Regions from separate parts of the Homo sapiens genome. Here all the other regions are linked to region 5. The links are contacts of gene promoters, found by promoter capture Hi-C in blood cells and fetal thymus (Javierre and others, 2016). All regions are on one chromosome and are shown on one strand. The core of a region is centred on a gene start or on the middle of the fragment in contact, and the rest is flanking DNA. Distances in the headings are between cores, read along the strand shown.

Region 1 (2,700 bases), core at 197-2,696, 490 kb after region 5:
TGGTTTCAAGCAATTCTCCTGCCTCAGCCTCCCCAGTAGCTGGGACTACAGGCGTGTGCCACCACGCCTGGCTAATTTTTTTTTTTAATTTTTAGTAGAGACAGAGTTTCACCATGTTGGCCAGGCTGGTCTCGAACTCCTGGCCTCAAGTGATCCACCTGCCTCAGCCTCCCAAAGTGGTGGGATTACAGGTGTAAGCGACCACGCCCGGCCTTTTAAAATCGACTTGAGTCTCATCTCCTGAAATGCAAAATGCATTGGGCCTGTCTCTTACTTCTGCATGTCTCATAATGCTTAGCACAGCACAAGCCCCGAGAGCGCATCATACACCCTGGGGTGGGGAGCTCCTGGCAGGGCTGGATCCACTCACCATTCCTGCCATCCATTGGCACTTGGCTCAGCACAGTTAGGCCAACAAGGACATAATAGACAAGTCCAAAACAGTACTGCACGACGTGAATCATGACATTGGAGAAGACACTGACGTAGAGGCACTCGAAGAGTCTTCGTAAGCTGTGCAGCCACAGAAATACTAGCACTAAGAATGCAGACAGTGCCAGCTCCCCTCCTACAATTCAGAAGGCAACAGGGTCAGCATTTCTCTTCTGGGATTAATCCAAAGTTTTGTTTTTCTGTACTGTTAAGCAAAGTATTAAATCCCATCTAACATCTTTCTTTTTGGTAGTAAGGAAGAAATGGGCCAAATGAAGTCAAGGAATTTGACTTCACTCAAATTACACAGTTCACTGTGTTACACAGTTCACTGGGTTCACAAACACCCATCACTCAATTCTGCTTCATTGTGTGACAGCCTTCCAGGCTTCAGGGACATCACGGTCAGGAGGTCTGTGAAGAGGTCTGTGGGTTTCTGGTCCTGGCACTAACAGCCAGATGCAAACTGGAAGCGTTCCTGGTAGCCTCTGAGTGGCCCCAGCTGTGGGATCCCCAGTATCTCAGGCATCACAGAGGCAGAGAGGGGGACAGGAACAGAAACAGAGTTATGCATTTCTTTCCACATTAAAAAAAAGAAATTATACTTTTAGAGGCATGCTGAGCCCAAGATCTACTTCCTCACCTGTCTTTCACGACCTGCCCACCAAAAAATCTGAAGAAAAGCTGGCTTTAAAAAAACACACACTTAGTTTCTCTTTTTTTCTTTTTTGTTTTTTATTTTTTGGTTAATTTTATGTGTCAACTTCTTTATTTTTGAGACAGGGTCTTGCTCTGTCACCCAGGCTAGAGTGCAGTGGCACAGTCAGGCCTCACTGCAGCTTTGAACTCCTGAGCTCAAGTGATCCTCTGTCTCAGCTTCCTGAGTGGCTAGAACTATAGTCATGTGCCACCACACCTGACTAATTAAAAAAAAATTTTTTTTGTTGCCCAGGCTGGTCTCGAACTCCGGGCCTCAAGCCATCCTCCAGCCTCAGCCTCCCAAAGTGCTGGGATTTTAGGTGTGAGATACCACGCCCAGTCACTTAAAAAAGAAATGAGTCACGGCCGGGGGCGATGGCTCATGCCTGTAATCCTACCACTTTGGGAGTTGGAGGCGGGTGGATTGCCTGAGCTCAGGAGTTCGAGACCAGCCTGGGCAACATGGTGAAACCCTGTCTCTACTAAAAATACAAAAAATTAGCCAGGCATGGTGGTGTGCGCCTGTAGAACCAGCTACTTGGCAGGCTGAGGTAGTAGAACTGCTTGAACCTGGGAGGTGGAGGTTGCAGTGAGCCAAGATTGGGCCACTGCAATCAGCCTGGGAGATAGAGCAAGACTCTGTCTCCATTAAAAAAAAAAAAAAAAAAGTCTCACACACAAACACACACACACGCATGCACACCATAAAGATGCAACTTAATTAACTTTTACAAATTAAGCCAACCAATCCCACCCATGTAACAGCACCCAGATCCAGAAACAGAACACTTTAGGAAGCTGAGGTTGGAGGATCGCTTGAGACCAGGAGTTTGAGACCAGCCTGGGCAACACAGCAGGTACCCCATCTCTAAAAACATTAAAAAAAAAATTAGCTGGGCATAGTGGCGTGCACCTGTAGTCCCAACTACTCAAGAGGTGGAGGAGGGAGGACTGCTCGAGCCCAGGAGTTAAAGGCTGCAGTGAGCTATGATCATGCCACGGCACTCCAGCCTGTACAACAGAGTGAGACCCTCTCTCTTAAAAAAAGAAAAAGAAAGAAAAAAATGAAACAAACAAAAGAAACAGGCTGGATGCGGTGGCTCATGCCTGTAATCCCAGCACTTTGAGAGGCTGAGGCAGGCGGATCACAAGGTCAGGAGTTCAAGACCAGCCTGGCCAACAGAGTGAAACCCTGTCTCTACTAAAAATACAAAAATTAGCCGGGCATGGTGGCGCATGCCTGTAGTCCCAGCTACTCAGGAGGCTGAGGCAGGAGAATCGCTTGAACCCGGGAGGGGTAGGTTGTGGTGAGCTGAGATCAGGCCACTGCACTCCAGCCTGGGCAACAGAGCAAGGCTCCATCTCAAAAAAAAAAAAAAGAAGAAACAGAACACGAACAGCACCCCCTAGTGTAGGCACGACCCCTCCCCCAAACTTCCCATGGGGAACAACCCCTATCAGCACAGATTAGCTTTGACTGTTTTTGTATTTTAAATGAACTAAAACTTAGTTTTAACTCCTTAGGAACAAGTTAAAGCAAACAAATAGAATTCCTCATATCCTCACAAC
Region 2 (2,700 bases), core at 96-2,595, 400 kb after region 5:
GTGATGGCAGGGGTCTAAACCAATGCACTCAAGATGGATGAGATAGAATTGATTTTTAAAATACTTAGATGAAATGGAAAAGATTTAGTAATGGCCACTTAGATGATGAAAGGTAAAAATGAAAGAGTATGTTTTTTTAACTATCAGATTTCTAGACACTGGCCACTACACATGTATAGAATAATACGGAAAATTGTGTGATTGGGTGTGAGGAGTAAAGCAGTTAGTTTATTTTAGGACATATTGAATTTGAGATGTATGAGGACATTCAGATATTTGGAAATATGGAACTGTAATTCAGGAGAGAGGTCTGAATTTTGAATAAGCGTTTATAGGCATGTGTGAATGGAAAATGTGTAGAGTGAGAAGTACCCACCCAAAAGCTTGCATCTAAAGGTTATTTATTACCACATTCTTTAGTACTGGAAAATTAAAATATATTAACTTGTTTAGAAGGGCCTGCATTTTGGCTTATGCCTAGAATCCCAGCACTTTGGGAGGCTGTGGTGGGCAGGTTGCTTGAGCCCAGGAGTTGAAGACCAGCCTAGACAACATAGACCCCCCACCTCTACAAATAAAAATACAAAAATTAGCCGGGCGTGGTGGTGCATCCCTATAGTCCCAGCTACTTGGGAAGCTGAGGCAGGAGGATCGCTTGAGCCTAGGATGTTGAGGCTGCAGTGAACTGAGATCACACCACTGTACTTCAGGCTGAGTGACAGAGTGAGACCCTGTGTCAAACAAAGAAATAGGTAAATATATACATACATAGAAACAACTAACTTGTTTAGGAAAAGTTTATCTAGTAATGACTATTTATTTATGTATTTATTTAACCTCCACCTCCTGGGTTCAAGTGATCCTGCTGCCTCAGCCTGCCGAATAGCTGGGATTACAGGTGCCCGCCACCGTGCCCTGCTATTTTTTGTATTTTTAGTAGAAATCGGGTTTCACCATGTTGGCCAGGCTGGTCTCAAACTCCTGACCTAAGTGATTTGCCCACCTCAGCCTCCCAAAGTGCTGGGATTACAGGTGTGAGCCACTGCACCTGGCCATGACTTATTTTTATATGTAGCAATATTTAATATTCTTAAGGACACAAAGTATTTATAAATTTTAATTATTTATTTGTAGGAAATGTGCACTGTTGAAGAACCCAATGAAGAGTTTACATCTAGACATAGTTTAGAATGGAAGTTTCTGTTTCTAGATCACAGGTAATTCCATTTTTAAATTCCATGAAAAGGTAATAGTCATGTTATATAATTCTTGAAATTAATGGATCAAGGGCAAACTTTTTTTTAAATTAGGACTTTGAAACCTGTTCCCATTTTTTGAAAAATAAAGCCCCCCCCCCAAAGTTTATTTCTAGTTGAAATATTTCTTATTATGGAAAAACTTATAATAATGATTGTTTTCTGTGTAATTTAGGGCACCACCCATAATAGGGTATTTGCCATTTGAAGTTCTGGGAACATCAGGCTATGATTACTATCATGTGGATGACCTAGAAAATTTGGCAAAATGTCATGAGCACTGTAAGTAGATTTTAACATTTCTGGTGATAATAACTGTTTTATAAGCAGAAGTCCTGTCCTGAAATGATAGGTAGTAAGACACAGATTTATAATCATTTTCATATTTTTGAAATATGCTAAAAGATTTTGCTTTATGTATATAACCAATGTAGTAGGAATCATAGATCAAGTTTAAACTTGTTCCTATTTTTATAATAAGTAGAATTTTATAATATTGCATCTAATACACCTTGTTCTGAAGCACGTGAGCTCTATATCTGGAGTAAGAGAAGTAGATTCCTTTGAAAATTGTAATACTTCAAACTTTTGGAGTATTGTTTCCTAAATTTTGATTTTGAGGCATGTGAATCTTTTCAGGAGCTAGGTACATGTCTGGAAAATCTGTCTTAGAAAGCTCATAGTAAGTGCTTGGTGTTATCTGCTTATTATTGTTGTTAGAGCAGGAGCATTATCATCCTTTGTGCCAGGCACTGTTCTAAACACTTTACATCTATTATCTTCATTATTCTCCATCACAGTTCTAAAAGGTAGATGCTATTATTATCTTCATGAGTAAGCTGAGAACACAGTAAGGCTAAGTAATTCACCCATAATTTCATAGCTCATTGGTGGCAGAGACAGGATTGGAGCCTAGGCCTACTCTTTTTATCACATGTATTTATTTTAGAAGTTTGTTTTAATGATGAGGTTTGCCTTAATGATATGTTTTATTTGCTTCTCTGATCCTCCTCCCAGATGCTTACCATCTTGAGTGTTCACTAAAGCTTAACTAGATATTTTAGACCTTTTCATGACGTTTTATGCTGCTGTTATAAACCTCACTGTATGAAAATGAAGCAGGTTGTATAATAGCATTAACTCTATGGAAAATTTTCAGAGTAAAGTCATTTCAGCACAAAAGATGTGGGCATTAAGCACCATGATGTTGTCTAAAGAGCTGATACCTCTATTAACTAGCTGGGTAACTTTGGACAGCAAGTTTGTTTGTAGACCTTGATTTCCTCCTTAGAGAGTGAGAGGCGGTGGCGGCGGGGTTGGGGGGTGGGGGGACAGATTGAGAGATTCTTGACTAGCATTTTCTAAGGTTTGTTCCACCGAATGTTGGTCCATAAAAAAAGACTTTATAGTCAAGGAAGATGGGGAAACACTTCATAATCCCTCA
Region 3 (2,700 bases), core at 99-2,598, 420 kb after region 5:
ACAGAAACTCCATACCCATTATACAAGTCCCCATTCTTCTCTCCCCAACCACCATTCTACTTTCTGTCCCTGTAAATTGGACTAGTCTAAGTACCTCATATAAATGGAATCATACAGTATTTGTCCTTTTGTGAATGGCTTATTTTACTTAGGATAATGTTCTCAGGGTTCATCCATGTTACAGCAATTGTCAGAATTTCTTTCCTTTTTAAGGCTAAGTAATATTCTACTCTACTATGTTTTGCTTATTCATTCCGTCTGTCAATGGAGTCTTGGGTTACTTCCACTTTTTGGCTCCTGTGAATAATGCTGCTTATGATTATGGGTGTACAAATATCTCTTTGAGTCCCTGCTTTCATTTTGGGGGGTTATATAAGCAGAAGTGGAATTCCTTCATATAGTAATCCTATAGTGAATTTTTTGAGGAACTGCATACTGTTTTCCATAGTGGCTGCACCATTTTTACATTCCCACCAGCACTGCACAAGGTTTCTCTACTTGCTTGCCAACACTGGTCATTTTCTATTGTTGTTTGTTTTTTATAATAGCCATCCTGATGGGTATAAAGTAGCCTCTTGTTGTGGTTTTGATTTGTATTTCCCTAATGATTAGTGATGTGGAGCACCTTTTCATGTGCTTATTAGCCATTTGTGTATCTTCTTTGGAGAAGTGTTTGTTCAAGTTTGACCTTTGCCCATTTTTTTAATTGGGTTGATTGTTGTTGAGTTGAAGGAGCTCTTAGACATTCTGGTTACTAATCCCTTATCAGAAGGATGATATGCAGATATTTTCTCCCATCTGTGGGATGGGACAGTTACCTTTTTACTCTGTTGATAGTGCCCTTTGATTCACAAGATTTTTAATTTGATACAGTCCAGTTTATCTGTTTATCTGTTCTTTTGTTGCCTGTACTTTTGGTATCATATCCAAGAAATTATTGCTAATTCCAGCTGCTAACTATTGCTAAATCCAATGTCATGAAGCTTTTCCCCTATGTTTTCTTCTAAGAGTTTTATAGCATTAGCTCTTATGTTTTGGTCTTTGGTCCATTTCAAGTTAATCTTTGTCTGTGATGTGAGGTAAGGATCTAACTTTATTCTTTTGAATGTGGATATCCAAAGACGTTTTGTATTTTTGTTACACATTGATCTTGCTGTATGAATTTTTTGTTTTACTGTTACACCAAAGGGAATCTTTTAAAATGAAACAAAGTAGGAATATACAGACCTTGAAAAACAAACTGGCAATGTCATTGGGTATTATCTTAGGTAAGTATTTACTCCACTGCGTTTTATGATGTATACCTTGTACTTTGGACTCCAATTTTTTTCCTTCTTTCTTCTAACAGATTTTCTCAAGGTCAACAACTTGTGACCAAATTAGTGACTGCTCCTGTAGCTTGTGGGGCAGTCATGGTACCTAGTACTATGCTTATGGGCCAGGTGGTGACTGCATATCCTACTTTTGCTACACAACAGCAACAGTCACAGACATTGTCAGTAACGCAGCAGCAGCAGCAGCAGAGCTCCCAGGAGCAGCAGCTCACTTCAGTTCAGCAACCATCTCAGGCTCAGCTGACCCAGCCACCGCAACAATTTTTACAGGTAATTCTCCCCATGGGGAAGCTGCTTCAAACTCATTTACTTTCATGTAATGAAATTAAGCATTAAGTGAACAGATTTGTGAGTGATGTGAAAAATTCACAAAAGCTTATTGTACAGTTTAAATCTCTACAAAGATAGAAAGCTTGTTCTGGTTGGCGATTTTTTTTCTTCCCTTGCTCAGTCGTTGGAAGACTTTAGACGTGCCATTGGGCATACCCAGTTATCAGAACTGCTGGACAGAGTGAGTGGCCTACTTCCTGCCCACCTGTTTTCTTAGTCTCTGGCTAGAGTTTCTGGAACTTAAGCAAGCACCTCTTTCCTCCTTTTTCTAGCCAACCATAAACTCTGCTCTGTACAGAGCAGGGATTTCTTTTTACTAGTATAGGTGTTACCTTAAATTATTTTGTTGAATTCAATCTTATTATAATTTTTCAGTTGTAAATTAATATCAGAGGAGAAATACCATGGAGGTGTAGTATATCTATGAGCTAAGTATATGTATAGCTAAGAACTTGGGCTGTAAAGTCTAGCTGCCTTGGGGTTGAGTCACTGCTGCACCACGTACTGCGTGACCTTTGGCAGGTTGCTTACTCTTGGTAAACGTCACGTGTAAAGTGGAGGTCATAATAATTGATACCTCATGGATTAATAGTGCTTGTAAATCACTGAATATAAGACAAGGCACATGGCTAGCTGTTATTTGTGACCGCTATATTGACAAATGTAATAGACACTTGGATTAGCCAAAATATAGACACAGATATCATTTAGTGAATCAGACAGGCTCTCCTTATCTATAGGATACAGAAGAAAGTCACTAGGCAAGATCCTCAGCAGAGAAATGTACAAAACCCTTATCTGGACCTCAGGATCCTCACTAGAAATCTACCTTTTCCCCTTCTGGCCTAGCTGGAGCAATTTTGAATGTAGGCTAGTCTGTATGTGTACTAGAGACCACTTCATCTAGGCTGGGCACTTATCATCAATTTCTGGGTTATATAACATGTGATGTGATTATTGTACTCTATATTCAGGCATAAATATAGTCTTAATTTGTCACCCTTTGTGTCCTGGTCCAAATATAATCCTTGTCTTT
Region 4 (2,700 bases), core at 102-2,601, 450 kb before region 5:
ACACTCCATGTTGCTGGTGGCCATGAATGGAGTTACTGTTGAGACTGGAATGTGAGCTACAAGGAACTATATTTTATTCATTCAAATTGGACCATTTTGTTGTAATGTGGAATGCTGGAGAATGACATTACAGGAATGCATATCCATATTTATAAGGCTTATTCCTACAATGTGGAAATGCCGAGCACACCATATTCTGCAGCTCTCTGCCAGTGTCTAGATTTTCCTATCCTTCAGACTATGTCTAAAGAGCAAAGCAGAAAAAAATAAATAAGTAAAGTTGCTGTCTTTTTGAGCAAACTACAGGTATCTCCATAGTTAAAATGAATAATAATAAAAAAAAAGAAAAAGCATACAGAATTAAAGACATCCTGCTCTAGGAAGAAGTGGCTAAGAGCGGGTGTTTATTCTTTGTGTCCTTGACAGCTGCAGTAAGGTGTCAAAATCCCCGAATGTATGACTTTGGTATTTGTAAGTGAAATCCAGCTCGGTGGGAGATACAAGCCACTCAGGATGGCGGTGTTCCCTCCTACACCAGATAATCCGTGGTACAAACAGACTAAGCATTTCCTGACAAAGGTGTGGTATAATCCTAACAATTACCTGCAGCCTCAGACTGTGGTACCCCTGAGTTTTATCACCAGTTGGTACATACCTCACAGCCCGGTCTGATCTTACACAAACAGGCACCCTCCCTGATCCATGCTGGTGGGCAGCTGTAGGGAATGTCAAGGTCATTGTAGCTGAAATGCAACGAAGTGCGAAGCTTCTGAAGCCGCTCCATGCTACAGCAGTTCAATAGTGATTGTATAGAGATCGCAGATCTTAAGAGCAGGAGGGGCCCTGAGATCACCCCTTGTGTGCATGCCCCTTAGTTTTCAGGAGGAGAAAGTGCCAGAGAGGTTGAACGACTTCACCCAAAGCCATACAGCCAGGTGGGGCTGGCTTTATATTCCACTGCATTCTGTCACTCATTCAAATGGTATTCACACTACTGGCCACAGAGCGACTCTGTTATGTACAGAGTCCTCACAAAGGACACCACTGTTGGTTTTGTCCCTATAACTGCCCCATATATTAAAATTTGTTTTCACTCTGCACGTGCACTATTTTTATCTTTAGAAAAAAAATGGTGATTTTTCTTTTAAATAGTGATTTTTTTCTTTTAAATCTGCCACAGAAATTGTGGCAGATGGTAGATTCACATTACTCAGGAAAGGGGAGGCTGGTTTTTGCTGTATTGAGTTCTTCTGTACTCCGTGGAGAGATACCAACCTGCAAACTAAGACAGTTCTCGGTGAGCCCACCATGTGCAGGCACTAGAGGGCAGCCTTTCCAAAGGCAGGCATTACAGACAGACACCCTTCCGTGGGTCTCTAGGAACTCGAAGGGCTGGGAAGTTTCTTAAGCCACAGAGAAAAAAGGCACTCCAGTAGACATCTCATCTCAGAAGAATGTCTTAATAATGGTGGCTAATCAGCTTGCCAGGACATACACTGTCAAATAGGTGTTTTCCATTACTTCTCTCTTTTTAAAAATAAACATACACACATACACAAAGACAATTCCAGACATAAAAACATACATGCCTCAGACACAACTAAATTCTCTCATTCCATGCTGGCATCTACAAGGGGGCGGTCTCTTAGGCTGCTTACTAAGCATCAATACCAGCATCACGTTGTCATGGAAAAATGCAAAGCATTCATGCAAGTTAATAAAGTTACTATCACTTCTACGACTTACCAGGAACATACTGCTTAGTCGACTGAAAAATAAAGCACAGTCTTTTTGGGGATGATTCAGTTATATCTCAAGTCACGCCAAAAAAAAAATCACATTTTCTATGATAATGGTCCCCATTTCCCTCCTCAAAGAATGAACAAAGCCTTTTATGTTTTCAAAAGTATAACTACAGAGCTGAAAGGAAGCTTGTGAATCCATGCAGCGGAAGCAAAACTAGGCAGACTTCATCTGAATAGATATTGTCAAAATGAGCGCACACAAATTAAACAGTTATTCTGCTTTACTCACATTTTTCTTCCTGTGTTTATGCAATTGTCACTTCGGGGAAGTTAGTCATTTTACATTTTATTAATTATGACATCAGGTTATTTAAAATCACGCCTTACTGTTAACAGAAATATTTTTATTGGGTTTCTATCTTTCCAATACTGCAGAATTATATAGTATACTTTTTTACAACACTAAATCCACTTCTTGGCGTGGCAGTGGCATGTGGTATGATGTGACAGAGCAGGTATCATTGAAGACAAGAGATTTTTATCTGATTTTTTAAAAACTCCTAAAAAGCTCTCATAAAATACAGCTGTTTTGTGAACTGAAATCTGTAAGTCATTCCTCTTAGAAAGGGGATCCAATGAACCAGAAGTTCACAACTTCTTAGGAATAATATTGCAAGAATCAAAAGACTTGAAGAAGGAAAGGTAAGGAGGAGGGGGGTCAAGGTTTTCTTTGGCCATCACCATACTTCCCTCTTCTTCAACCTATAAGAAGTCACAGCTTGCTTTTTCTATAAAAAGTGTTAGAGCACGGCCAGCTAGAACCAAGAATGGAAGCCAGTTAGGAAATGCTAAGATTTGAAGGACATGTCTGGGGGTTGGCCCTGAGGGCAGGACTATGGCTTTGGGCAGCGGTGGCAGCAGGCATCAAGACCTAGGCAAGTTGGGTGTCGTTCCA
Region 5 (2,700 bases), core at 159-2,658:
TATCATCTCCGCCCTATCCAAACCCTAATTACACTTCATGGTTTACATGAAGTTGATTCAATGAAGATCTTAATCCAAAGTGATCTCTCCTCTAAATTTCTACAGCACTTACTGCATTTGCCGTCTAATGGGCTCATTAAATCATAAGCTTCTCTATCTCAAGAATTCTCTTAAAGAAGGGAGGGATGTTCATCATAGTTTTGTGTTTAGTGGATACTTAAATATCTATTAAGGTAATTAGAACTGAATAGTAAAAACTGGTCAAATGAATAATAGGGACCAACGTTTACCACATACTCCTTCTCTGGCTAAAAGCAACTGAGTGTACAGTAAGAGGCAAAACAAGACAGGATTGGGCATACCTCATAAAGGAGTTAGCCATAATGAAAAGCAGTATGTGACTCTTCATTCATTCAGCAAATACTCATGCTTATTAGGTGGCAGACACTATTCTAGGTTACAGTAGTCAACATGACAGATATGTTTATGAAGACCTGAAGCCGGGTGTTTCTATGGCATTTACATCCTAAGAGTCGAGTGATTAACTCTTCAGTCTTTACGGTACTTTTCTGAAAGTCAGTAAATAAATCCCTAGAGGTCCTCTAAAATTATTCTCCAGGTCTGAGAACCCATATCTGACCACGTTCCAAAGGCAGCCATCCACTGCTTACTCTGTACTGGTTGTTTCCTTCAGCTCAGTTGGACCACCACACTGTGTGACAAATAGCCTGTCAGTGTGAGTGCCCGTGTGCATTGGGCCCTGTATGCTGCTGAGATATATTAATGCATGAAGCATTGCCATCTAGAAGATATAACTGTGCAAGGAAATAGAGAAATACACTTAAGAGATTTGGCGGGGGGTGGGGGGGAGTTGGGGTTGGGGGGCCGGGATGTGAATTTGGACAAAGAGGAAGGCACAGTCACGCTCTCCTCTCCTGGACCACGCCAAAGAGCTTACGATCAGGGTCATTTTGCACAAACAAAATCTGGTTCCGATGGGCGGAACCGTAATGGGGCCCGTGAGGACTGCCCTCCCAGCTCCGCATTCTCCTAGACCCGAGGACAAGGGACTGGAGAATGCTCTGACCAAACTTCGTCTTACCGGGACAAACGGGGAAAGGAAGGTCAGAAGGAGCGGTGCCCGACCCCAGGCGTGGAGACAGCAGCCGGACTGAGGAGCCGCCTTAGACCCTGGTGCCTGTCAGCTCGTCTGTCCGCCGCCGCCGGGACTACCGGGCAGCCGCGGCCGAAGGCTTACCGCAAGGCCGGACTGAGCCTGGCTGTGCCGAGGCGGGTCTTCCAAAACGGAGACCGGATGGGGGCCACTAGGATACGCCCCTCAATAAAGCGTTGAACGGGAAGCGGCCGTTCCCCCAACACTTCCTATATCCGGGCACGTGACAAACTCCGCGCCGGAAGTTGACCGCGTAGAGAAGGAAGAAGCAGCGATGGGAGAAAAAGGGAGCGGCCAATAGACGCGGAGGGGCGGGGCGCCAACCGACGGGCGTGGCCAGGCGGAACAAGGCCTCATTGGAGGGGCGTGTCAGGGAAGGGCAGGGGCGGGGCCTTTGTGGCACAGAAACTGACTTGGGAGTTGGGGATTAAGAGTTATTTATTCAGATATTTGCAGCAATTCATTTAAGAAGAAATTCGATTAAATGTTTTCTTTTTTCATACGTAAAGCTCTATTAACTCTAGATCTTTGCTACTTAAACTTTGGAGAGCTTAAATGAGTTAAATCAGAATCCCTGCGGGTGGGACCCAGACATCAGTACTTTTAATATCTTCCCAGATGATTCTCATATGCAGCTAAGGTCAAGAACCATTGTCCTCATGACCTTGATACTCAAAGTGTGGTCCGTGGATCAGCTGCTTGGGTATCATCTGGGGGCTTTTTAGGAAATGCAGCCTCTCTGGCTCACTTCAGATCTACTGAATCAGAATCTGCATCTTAGCAAGATGATGCTTATGCATATTTAAGTTTGGGATGCATAAATGATGCCAATGTTGCTGGTTGCAGGTAGGTGTTTTATTTATTCAATATTCCTGGCACCTTTTTTTTTTAATGCTAGGCACTTTGATTCCAGGTACAGAGGTGATTCAGGCATGAATCTTAACCTAAAGGAGTTCACAGTGTGGTAGGACTAGACAAGGTGTAGGTACAAATATATATAAAATAGGACACAAAATAAGTGACCAAAGAGAGGTACAGATCAGATAAATGTGCTAGAAATTTAAATGAGCAAACAGTAGTTAGAATACTTTTCACTTTCATCAAATGACTTCCCTTTTAAGAGCAGGATCTGGTTATATCTTTACAAAGACCCTTTCCTGCTTGGCACCGGAATGCTTACTGTGGACACTCTATGACAATTGCATGTGTTTTTTGGTCCTATTATCTTTCTTTTATTTACCTGTATGTTTATAGCCCTCCTCAAAGTTGGGAAATGAATTGCATTTCAGAAGCCTAGATCTCTTTCTTGAACCTCAAGATTTGTGTATATACTGCCCATCGCCTGACATTTCCACTTGGATGTCTTATAGACACCTCAAACTTGTGTGTCCAAAAATTAAATTATCCTCTCTCCTCTTGGATTCCCTGCAAAGTGACACTTATATGCAATAGTTTATTTGGAAATTTGATCCCAGGGAGCAAAATGAGGGAAGAGGAAGAAGACAAAACAAAAAGGGAGATGCAGT

The links. The method cuts DNA at HindIII sites, captures the fragments that hold promoters and counts their contacts. A CHiCAGO score of 5 or more calls a contact.
Region 1: a fragment that was not itself captured here is called in contact with the fragment with the promoter of EXOC1 in region 5 in 2 of 17 cell types (naive B cells and activated CD4 T cells); the score reaches 5.8 in naive B cells.
Region 2: a contact is called between a fragment that was not itself captured here and the fragment with the promoter of EXOC1 in region 5, in 1 of 17 cell types (total CD4 T cells). The highest score is 5.2, in total CD4 T cells.
Region 3: a fragment that was not itself captured here is called in contact with the fragment with the promoter of EXOC1 in region 5 in 5 of 17 cell types (naive CD4 T cells, total B cells, naive B cells and 2 more); the score reaches 6.0 in naive CD4 T cells.
Region 4: a contact is called between a fragment that was not itself captured here and the fragment with the promoter of EXOC1 in region 5, in 2 of 17 cell types (megakaryocytes and fetal thymus). The highest score is 6.4, in megakaryocytes.

Annotation. Positions count from the first base shown.
Region 1 is chr4:55,361,942-55,364,641 of GRCh38, reverse strand. It overlaps SRD5A3 (steroid 5 alpha-reductase 3), which reads right to left. Exons shown (of 5, transcript NM_024592.5): 3 at 371-568. Among named protein-coding and RNA genes, the nearest start is that of LINC02928, 15 kb to the left of the region's middle. RefSeq lists an enhancer at 1-66. The HindIII fragment of the contact is 6,744 bases long and covers 1-2,700 here.
Region 2 is chr4:55,454,735-55,457,434 of GRCh38, reverse strand. It overlaps CLOCK (clock circadian regulator), which reads left to right. Exons shown (of 23, transcript NM_004898.4): 12 at 1,135-1,217; 13 at 1,432-1,538. Among named protein-coding and RNA genes, the nearest start is that of TMEM165, 60 kb to the right of the region's middle. The HindIII fragment of the contact is 1,919 bases long and covers 386-2,304 here.
Region 3 is chr4:55,437,186-55,439,885 of GRCh38, reverse strand. CLOCK (clock circadian regulator) reads left to right here. Exons shown (of 23, transcript NM_004898.4): 22 at 1,349-1,604. It also overlaps a transcript of TMEM165 not described here. Among named protein-coding and RNA genes, the nearest start is that of TMEM165, 43 kb to the right of the region's middle. The HindIII fragment of the contact is 726 bases long and covers 986-1,711 here.
Region 4 is chr4:56,300,294-56,302,993 of GRCh38, reverse strand. The region is part of intron 4 of CRACD (capping protein inhibiting regulator of actin dynamics); the gene reads right to left. Among named protein-coding and RNA genes, the nearest start is that of AASDH, 86 kb to the left of the region's middle. The HindIII fragment of the contact is 1,165 bases long and covers 769-1,933 here.
Region 5 is chr4:55,852,356-55,855,055 of GRCh38, reverse strand. EXOC1 (exocyst complex component 1) reads right to left here and starts at 1,408. Exons shown (of 19, transcript NM_001024924.2): 1 at 1,103-1,408. RefSeq lists a silencer at 1,517-1,616. The HindIII fragment of the contact is 2,625 bases long and covers 151-2,700 here.